3 separate regions of the Homo sapiens genome follow, and regions 1 and 3 are each linked to region 2. Evidence: promoter capture Hi-C in 16 types of primary human blood cells and fetal thymus (Javierre and others, 2016). All regions are on one chromosome and are shown on one strand. The core of a region is centred on a gene start or on the middle of the fragment in contact, and the rest is flanking DNA. Distances in the headings are between cores, read along the strand shown.

Region 1 (3,202 bases), core at 290-2,789, 260 kb after region 2:
CCAGCCTCCCAAAAGTAGCTAGGACCCCAAGTGTGCGATACTATGCTCGGCTAATTTTATTTTTTGTAGAGATGGGCATCTCCCTAAGTTGCCCAGGCTGGTCTTGAACTCCTGGGCTTAAGCAGTCCTCCCAACTTGTCCAACCAAAGTGCCACAACGCCCAGGTAATTTTTGTACTTTTTGTAGAGATTGGGTTTCACCATGTTGCTCAGGCTAGTCTCGAACTCCTGAGCTCAAGATCCACCTGCCTTGGCCTCCCAAGGTGCTGAGATTATAGGCATGAGCCACCACACCTGGCCTTTTAAAAATTATACTTTGAAGTGCCATAAAATAGTTTCCAAATATACTAGTGTATTTAGATGTTTAGATCTAAACTTAGTTCTTCTAAGCTGCCTATTCATGCATCAGTTTTAATTCCTGAAGCCACAATTTAAAAGAATGTCAAACTGGCATTGTCCCACACTAATTATTGTTTTAACAATTTTTCTGCCTTATCTTACTTTTTCATATGAACTCTAAAATAATCTCATCTAATTACAAAAACTTGTTGCTCATCTTTTTTTGGGGATGGTGTTTTATTTTGAATGTAGACACTACAAGCTGGTAATATTCAGGGTTGTAATCTGGCCACTTTGGCCTGTTTATTCACTCTTCATAAGCTTCCAAATTTTTTGAACAACTCAGTTTTAAAGAAACAAAGCCACTGAACTTGGCCTTGAGGAAAACAGAAGCCCAAGCTTTGTAGAACCCTAGAAGAGAGGAAGGAGATGGCCCTCATTCTACGTCTCCCATAGCCATACAGAAATCTGCCAAAATAATGACCTTCATGCTATAAATGTAATTCTCACTGCAGACAATATACATCACAATACTACGCTCCTTTGATTTTTAGTCAGCTCTCAGACTTTAATGTTGAGTGCTACAGGGTTAGTCCCTACCATCTTTAATTGTTCCAGTCCTCAGATGATGTTCTTGTCCAATGATTTGAAACAGTATTTATACACCAACTTCCAGCTTTCCATCTTCAGCCAGGTTATCTCCCTGAACTCCAACTGCCTACTCTACTTCTCATGGATGTCTCCAACCAAATGCCAGATCTTCCCTACTCTGGTTAAGGTAAACTGCACCCTTCCAGCTGCTCAAGTCAGACCAAAAGTCTTAAGAGCCATCTGTGATTCTTCTCTCCACAACCCAAATTCAGTATGTTGACAAATGTTGATTCCTCCTTAAAACATATCCAGATATCCAGCCACTTTTCACCTTCCCCACTACCACCCTGATTCAAGCCACTGATAACTCTTCCCTGTTCATAGTAGCATCCCCAAAAGGGTCTACTTGCTTCGACTCTTGTGCTATAGTCTATTCTCAATTACATCACTTTTCTAACCCAAAACCCTACAATGACCCTTTACTTCATTCAGATATAACAACTATACCATCTGGCCTTCCAGTTATCTCTTAGATCTAATCTACTCTTCTCCCTTACTCTGGGTGCTCAAATTAGAACCCTCTCATTTGTTTTACACAAACGCATTATGGTTCTTGGGACATCTGTCCTTATTGTTCCCTTTACCTGAAGTATTCTTCCTCAGACATCCATCATTTCTTCAGCTTTTTGCTCATATGACAACACCCTCTCAGACCTACCTGCTTACTCCATTTGAAAAAGCAACCTCCCCCACTCTATCATCACCTTCCATCTCCTTCTTTCCTTATGGGCACTTGCCACCATTAACACACTACTGTCTTCCTAAAAGAGAATGTTAAGCTCCATGAGATCACGGAACACTGCCTGCAATATAAGACTCAAATAACTGTTAAATATGTAATATAAAAACCTAGATTTTGTATATAAAATTTCCTAAAGTTAGAAAATCATGCTATTAAATCACAACTTACAGCACACATGACAGAATCCACTGGAGTTGGTGCTGGATATGAAAATGAGTACAATTTAACTGAAAGGTAATCTGACTAGACCAACTACCTTTGACCTGCTAGTTTCACTAAGAAATCGCTACAGATGTTTGCAAACATTTAAGCATTGCGACTCTCACTAAAACTTTATTTCTAAGAGTGAAAAATTAGAAAAAACTTCTGAATGTCCAACAACAGTAAGACAGTTGCATAAATTGCTTATAGAATAATATGTAGGTATGTCCATGTATATTAACAAACAATTCTGGATATAACTAAAAACACAAATTCACCATATATTTATATATGTGCACAGGATATTAACAGCAGTTATCACTAGGTAGTTGTATTACAATTCATTTAACTGTTCACTTGTCTTTCTTAAAATTGTTTCAAGTTCTTCAAGAAGTAACACAAAGCTTGAAAAGAATACTTAAGATTTAAATCATCAGAGTGAGACTGCCATAACATGCATGTAAGAATTGACTGGTACAAAAACCTAAAGGGTCTCAGTATAACAACTCTTCTCTGTATTGTTCTTGCCAATGGTTTAGAAATTGCGTTAAATTTACAAATTGTCGCCAGGGGCGGTGGCTCACAACTGTAATCCCAGCAATTTGGGAGGCAAAGGTGGGCGTACCACTCGAGGTGTTCACTCGAGGTCAGGAGTTCGAGACCAGCCTGGCCAACACGGCCAAACTCTCTCCTAAAAAAAAAAAAAAAAAAAAAAAAAAAAAAAAATTAGCCAGGCCTGGTGGCGTGCGCCTGTAATCCCAGCTACTTGGGAGGCTGAGATGGGAGAATTGCTTGAACCTAGGAGGCGGAAGTTGCAGGGAGCAGATATCGTGCCACTGAAGACTGGGAGACAGAGCCAGAGTCCTCTCAATTAAAAAAAATATATACTAATTGTGATGTGTACATTATTTGTGTCTATCTGAATAATGGAGATGTTTCGGGGGTTCTTACACTTTTACATCAAATTAACAACTCAGAAATAAAGAATTTTTAAAATGACAGAGCTTTGGTAATTCCATATTCAACTGTATAGAACACAAAGGAAATTCAAGTTAGCTCTGTAGTTCCTGCTGCCACTTTTCCAATCATTCTTAAAGAATCACGTGAAATTGTGGAGTCATACTGATTATGAACTCATTACAAGAATGCCCGCCAGTCCAAGAATTGTTAAGCCAGCCTTACTCATTTATCATTACGATGGTTTCATCACCTGAACTGAGAAGAAAAAGATCATTTGCATAAAATGGATAGGGCTTTAGTATCACTAAAA
Region 2 (3,676 bases), core at 504-3,003:
TGGGGTGGACCAAGAGCCCACCCATGTTCATCACACGTCAAGCTTCAACCTTGCAGAAGAGAACAGCAGCAGCCAAGGGTCACTGTGACTCAGTGATCGGGAAGGATGTATTCACAGCGCTATCCTATTATGGTCTATTTTGTGTAATTTAGTCAGGTATCCAATACTATTCTAGCAGGAGACATGATTTATTTTATTTCATTGGTTTGATGTTTTTGTTTTGTTTTGTTTTATAGTCTTTAAGGTACCCAGAGTCCTCAGAGAGGCCAGATGGCAGCTGAGTTGTTTGGGATTAGTGAGTCTGCTTTGGGGCCAAGGACAGCCACCAGGAAATCTCCAGCTGGGCCTGCTTTCTCTTCCCTGCTTCCTTCCCACCCGACTCTCACCTCTGTGGAAACTCCCAAAGTCTCAGAAGTCGTGATTTTTCCATTGGCTGCTGGGGTTAAAATTGAGCCACCAATGCCTTCCTACAGAGAAGGGGGAGGGTGGTGGATGAAAAAGTGAAATTCCTGCTCCTGAACCTTATACAGGAGATTTCTTACCCGAGGGAATTTGAAACTGTTCCGGAGGAGAATTTCCCCAGCCCAGCCTAATTTTTACCAATCTGAGAAATTGCACCTCCCACTTCCCCTTTCCCCCCTTGAATGATCTCTGTCAGGCTGCCTGGGCGCTGCTGTAACTTCTGAAGGTTACAACATAGAACACCACGGTTGTCAGGTAACAATGACGGAAACACTTGCTCCCTGAGCTGAGCATTGTGTTATTATATCAGAATAGCCTCTAGCGAGGGAGAGAGTATATTTCTTCATAAGGGGGAGGAGAGAAGCAGGCACAGGCCTCCTCTTCCAGCTGTGTCTCTTCTAGCTGGTCAACATCAGGATTGGGCCTGAAATGTGAGCAGAAAACACAGGTACATTATGGTCCAAAGCACCATTCACAGAACCAAGGCTGCCATCGTGGGCAACAGGCTAAGAAGAGATTCACAGTCTCCCAACACCTTATTCATGGACCAAACAGCCACAGATCATGACGGAGATGGCTAGAAGGAGTGCATTCCCCCAGTAGACACGCCATACCTGTGATTTCCACCGTCCGTGAAAGAAAGGCAGCCCTCATCAACCACAAATGCAGAGTTATCTTGAGGGTAGATGGTGTAGTATTGAGGAGGACTTGACATGGCGGCTGCTGCCCCTCCAGAGGTTATGAGGCCGCAGGGGCTCACCACAGACTGCAGGTAGCTGGTATTTATCCCCATAGGCTCTGGAGAACCATAAGGAGGAGGGATGTACTGCACCACAGTGGCCCCATGGAAGGTGATGGGTTGGTTGATGCCAGTGAAAACAAATGATGGTCCTCCTGGTGTCTGTTCCGAGTCCGGGACCCTTTCCTCACTTTCTTTGCACAACTGGCAGGAGAGCATTTTGAACTTGCACACAGCAATCAGGATGAATGTCACCCCAACTGACAGCAGGACGGGCCCAAGGAGCTGGGTCCATTCAAAGTGGGAGACACCTTGGTATTTGATCCAGCCCATGACAGTGAATGTGATCCCCACCAGTCCCAGAAAGATGCCTGAGAAGAGCAAGGTGGCCCCCGCCTTGTCATCATCGGACACCTGGATGTCAGCGGTGCTGGGTGTGTAAGGAGTGACGGAGAACACATTGACAGGGAAGTCCTCCAAGCGGCCGCTGCCCTGCTCCATTGCTCCTTGTGGGCTCACCCTGCTTCTTAGAGTGGAGAGGATTGTGAGAACCAAGGAATCACAGGTCCAAATTAGTTATAGAAGAACTTAGGGCTTGTGCTTAACAGGGTGTAACACACAGAGGGCTGGACCTTGTTTAGAAGAATAAAGGTCTGAGAAATGAAGCCTGAAGTTTTCTCATGTATTGTCAACAAGTGGAGGTCTCTGTTTTGCAAGTCAATGACAAGCTGTCTCTCTAATTCACATTCATTCATTCACACATTCAAAAATTAACTTATTGAGCCCATCTTTCTCTTTCTTTTTCTTTTCTTTTCTTTTTTTTGTTTTGTTTTGTTTTTTTAGGGTGTGGGTCTCACTCTGTCACCCAGCTGGAATGCAGTGGCACAATGATAGCTCACTGCAGCCTCAACCTCCTGGGTCAAGCGATCCTCCCACCTCATCCTCTCCAGTAGCCAGGACTACAGGCACACATCACAATGCTCAGCCAATTTTTAAAATTTTTTGTAGAGATAGGGTCTCATTATGTTGACCAGGCTGGTCTCAAAACTCCTGGACTCAAGTGCTCCTCCTGCCTTGGCCCCAGGAGGTACTCTTCTATAGCAATTTAAGACGCTGCCATAAGACCCTGTTTTTGTCCTACCCAACTTTGTAGAAATGGCAGAGCTCCCTCAAGGGTCTCCAGCAGTGAATGGGGCCCTTGATATATCCACACATGCACAGGAGTCTAACCTGATTTACCTAGTGGTTCAGTTCATTAGGAATAGACAGACACCTATTTCTTGACTGCGTGTGTATTCCTATCTACTTCAAGAACCCCTAGCTGTGATGATACTTAAACTTTAATAACAGTTCTCACAAAGCCCTGAGATCCTGTTCTTTTCTGGCCAGCCCCACATGCCTTTTGCTTTCTGCGTTTGGGGAGTAATTCCAGCTTTGGGAGAGGAACAACGTCATAGGAAACCTTTTTATGCACTGCATCACTGCCAGTGGTTGAATAAGCATCAGATATGACCTGGCTCACTAGGACACATGCTTCGGACCCTCCCTCCATGGTGGCCACACAGTTCCTGGTCTTCAAGGTGAAACAACCAGCTGTGTTTTGGAACCTACTATGTTTTACAACCAAACCCAAGTTGATGTAGAGAAGACAGTTTAATTTTCAATAACATTATCTGTCATTCATGACTGCAAAACTTCCAAACAGCCCCATGAGTTTCTTCCTCCACTGATTAATAACTGTAGCCTTCTTTCCTTCCTAGACAGATTTTATTCAAGCCGATGCTCTCTGCAGTAATTAAATATTATATTAGCTCCTTTTGCAGAATTGAGAGGGCTGCCGTCTTGCCCTAAGGCAGGGCTTCCTAAACTTCCCTTGACAAAGAAATCACATGGGCCACTTTTTTAAAGGACAAAATGTGAGCTCCCATTTCAGACCAACAGAACCAAATATCCAAGGGAAGGACCTCAGGTGATTCATCATCAAGAAATCTTAGGAAACCCAACCCCAGGTTAACCTTAAATGCTTCTAGGAGACCAAAGGACATTTTTCCCCATGAAAATGCCTCTCCCTGCTACAGGACAAGGCTTGTAATCTCCTACTTCACTGCCAAACAGATGGAAAAGCAAGCAGGTGACCCCTGAGGTATCTTCCTGGATGTGCCTTGGAGCAGCAAGGCTGGAGTGGAGTTGCTATAGGAACAGGCTGCCCTTTTTCCCACTGAGCTAGATCAGAGATCCAGGAAAGCCAGATTTTCTCTTTAACTATAAATTTCTGGTAAGTTAGCCTGCCATTATTTTCAGGTTCTTAACTCCTAAGTTAACAGTCAAAACAATCCCTGACATTTAGAAAAAAGCTAGGATCTCAAAACTGTCTTCTAAATCACTCAATTTATGTTTTCCATTTGCCTTTAGCTATATCCACTAAGAATAACTGGGAAGCCTGAGAGAGTAGAGGAAACAGATCACCCTCCTTTA
Region 3 (3,594 bases), core at 161-2,660, 250 kb before region 2:
TAACCACACACTTAAGCATCTAAGTGTCATGAGTATTTTATAATAAATTTACATCGCTTAAGAAGCAAGTTCATATAGGTAGATAGAAGCTTAAAATGCTCATCTTTAACATAATTTAAAATTTAAAGTAAATAACCAAAAGGATCATTTCAAATTCACATGTTATAAATGCCGCTGTATTTATTTAGGTAGGTTTTTTATGGTAGAGAAAGAGATCAAAGGAAATATGTGTAATGTTTTCCATTTTGTCAACATATCTCGACAGATCTATTAATACAAATCAGTACTATAATTCTATCATAAAAGACAAATAGATTATTGGATATTTTTTACAATGACTACATGACTTTTGTGGATTAAAATCAGGATGATCTAAATATTAGTAGATTAATTTATTTGGAGGAAAAGTTACAAATCATTCACTTAAAAATTGGCTTTGTGCCCACATTCTGGAGGCACACTAGGGAGAGTTGTAGCTGCACTGCTAATGTCTACACAGAGTGAATTTCAGAACATAATTTATGTAGATGAAGTGTGCAGAATGTTTTTATTTGTTCTACATCTCACTGTCTCACCTCTGCATGAACTTCCCAAACCCAGATCTACTCCAAATATTCTTACTCCCCTTCTCCACACTTCCCTCCAACGTGTTTGCTTTGGCAACTTTCATGTTCTTACAAACAATTCTCCCAAGGAAATCAATCACTCTTGCACCCAAAGAGAAATACTGTACACTCAATGCGATGACAAAATGAAACATGTCTGAGGCAAACCATGTGTTCCCGCGTGTCCGGGATTATGCTATTTGCACAAGGAACATGTTCCTAATGTGTTTGGCTTCTGTTACCCCTTGTGATTGCAACTTTCATTGTCTTTTGGAATTTATGATTTCAGAAGCAACTGCTTGGATTCATTTAATGGGACACTTTTGGAATGTGAAGCCTGGGGGATTCACTGGGCAATGTCATTCTGTTCTTTTCAGGCAAATCTGGCCCATATAAGGATACCTGTTGTTTAAGGAATTGTGGAGAATTGATTCTGTTTTGGCACCCCAGACAAATGGCTTACCTAAATGACATGGATCCATCATACTTTGAAAGTTCTTCAGTTCATCAGTGACATTATTTGGGAAGAAACACTTTCTGGCAAGTGAGTGAGGCAATGTCATTTTAGAAAAGAGGTTTTCTGGCCAGGCACGGTGGCTCACACCTGTAATCCCTTTGGGAGGATTTGGGAGGCTGAGGAGGGTAGATCACCTGAGGTTAGGAGTTAGAGACCAGCCTGGCCAACATGGTGAAACCCCTTCTGTACTAAAAATACAAAAATTAGCCAGGCGTGGTGGTGCCCGCCTGTAGTCCCAGCTACTCAGGAGTCTGAGGCAGAAGAATTCCTTGAACCTGGGAGGTAGAGGTTGCAGTGAGCCGAGATAGTGCCATTGGACTCTAGCCTGGGTGACACAGTGAGACTCTGTTCCAAAAAAGAAAAAAAAAAAAGACCTTTTCTGTGGTGCTCTCCTCAGAGGTACTCAAGGTACTTGACCAAATTCAAATTTGTCCCTCAACTTGGCAGCATATTTAATTAGAAGAGAGGAACCACTATTGCCAGTTCCATTTTTATAAGCATAAGACCCATGAGCTAACCAAATCCCTGTCCTGTTCTCTTTGTTCTGAATGAAGGATATCTACTTCCTTACACCAAAGATTGTCATAGTAGGAGGCTGACTCTGGCCCATTTGGCCTTTTACCCGGGTTTCTGCACTGTCTTCCACTGGAGTTCTTCAGTAAGCCCTGGGTTCATTTCTTGCCATGACTCCACCTACCTACTGGGGACCCTGGGAAACTCTGTTCCATTTAAGTTTTTTTTTTTTCTATATCTCATTAGTCTTAGATTTTTTAGAATGACAAATGGGGTGAGTAAATTTTCCCAGTCTGGTGCCTAATATATTAAAAAATTAAATAAATAAGAATTAGAACCATCAATCACTCCCATTGTAGCAAATGAAATGACACAGGCTCAGGGAAGGCACACAACAGAATCCAGTCACAGGTGATGGAAAGAGGCCTTAGTTTAAAAGAAACAGGGAGGCAATAATTAATTCATTGTTGAGAATGGAAATATAATTCTACCCAGTAAGGAAAGTGTTGATACTCAAAATCTTATTCTTCTGTTAAGAGAACTGTGGTCCCAGGGGCATGGAAATTAACATTTAGAGTCATCCCTCATAGACACTGGGGGACACTGTATGCATGAAGAGGGGCCTACGTATGGTGCATGGTTAAGATCACAGGCTTGGGAATACATATGCCAATGATTGGAGACCACCCCTGCCACATAATAACCTGGTGGATAAACTATTTAACTTCCCTAAGCCACAGTGTTCTCATTTGTAAAATGGGCAATAATAATATCTACCTCATAGGTTTATCGTGAAAAGTATGCAATATAATGCATGCAAAGCACTGGCAGATGATACAGGCTAAATCAGTGTTAGCTGCTGTCATTATCATGATCATCATCACATTATCACTGTTACTGATATGACATTCTAGTCAAGGCCATGGAATATATATTAATCCATGTATATATTATATAAATTGTATATATGTAAATCCATATATACATTATTTAAAAGTAACTTATGCTACTAAACAAAGATGGTCAAAGTAAGTGCTCTAAAATTTTTTTTTAAGGGGAATAAGGGACTGTAAAAAGGAAGACAGAGAAAGCTTCAAAGAGTAGGTGGTCTCTTTGCAGGGCCTTGGTCTGGTCTGGGCCTTGAAGGTGGGGTGGAAATTGCCATCCCGTGTTCCATCCACCAGCTGCACTGCACTGACACAGCAGTGCCTCTCTGTTACAGACTGAACGTTTGTGCCCCCAACTCCAAACTCATGTATTGAAGTCCTAACCTCCAATGTCATGATATTTGGAAGTGGGGCCTTTGGGAAGTAATTAGGTTTAGATGAGGTCATGACAGTGGGCCCCCCATGATAGGATTAGTATCCTTACAAGAAGAGGAAGAGATTAGAGCTCCCTCTCCCTGCATTATGAAGACACAGCAAGCAGGTGGCTGTCAGCAAGCAAGGAGACTAGAGCCCTCACCAGGAGCCAAATTTGTCAGCACCTGGATGTTGGACCTCCCAATTTTCAGAGCTGTGAGAAATAAATGTCTGTTGGTTAAGCCATCCAGTCTATTGTTTAAGCCATCCAGTCTATGGTATTTTGTTATAGCTGCTTAAGCTGACAAAGACACTCTCATATGAGGTGAGGGGAGCATCAGAAACCTCAGCCTCCGCATGGGAATATGCCACCTTCCAGGGAGGCAATCTCATTGGTTTACTGGGCTCCAGGCTCTTTATTGTTGTCTCTCTACTGACTGGTAGGAGTAAAGTGTCCTCTTTTGGCTGGGTCACTAAATAAAGGAAATTTAGGTTGGAATTATTGAAACCCATTCTCTTCTTTGATTCCAAAGAATTTAAGTTCCTCAGCTGTGATTTTTTTTTTCTGGTTTGCTGAAATTTTTACTTTCCTTATTCCCCTCATTTCTGCCAATCAGTTTCAAAATAATGTAAACTGAAGGCCGTTTGTACTAGTGCT

The links. Contacts are between HindIII fragments. The CHiCAGO score rates a contact against its expected background, and 5 or more counts as called.
Region 1: a fragment that was not itself captured here is called in contact with the fragment with the promoter of TMEM174 in region 2 in 3 of 17 cell types (erythroblasts, megakaryocytes and endothelial precursors); the score reaches 6.1 in erythroblasts.
Region 3: a contact is called between a fragment that was not itself captured here and the fragment with the promoter of TMEM174 in region 2, in 1 of 17 cell types (endothelial precursors). The highest score is 5.0, in endothelial precursors.

Annotation. Positions count from the first base shown.
Region 1 is chr5:72,915,576-72,918,777 of GRCh38, reverse strand. No RefSeq gene overlaps it. Among named protein-coding and RNA genes, the nearest start is that of MIR4804, 39 kb to the right of the region's middle. The HindIII fragment of the contact is 1,599 bases long and covers 740-2,338 here.
Region 2 is chr5:73,171,270-73,174,945 of GRCh38, reverse strand. TMEM174 (transmembrane protein 174) reads right to left here and starts at 1,753. Exons shown (of 2, transcript NM_153217.3): 1 at 1,077-1,753; 2 at 1-886. The coding sequence starts at 1,702. The coding sequence ends at 781. The HindIII fragment of the contact is 4,462 bases long and covers 45-3,676 here.
Region 3 is chr5:73,421,780-73,425,373 of GRCh38, reverse strand. No RefSeq gene overlaps it. Among named protein-coding and RNA genes, the nearest start is that of FOXD1, 25 kb to the left of the region's middle. The HindIII fragment of the contact is 2,637 bases long and covers 92-2,728 here.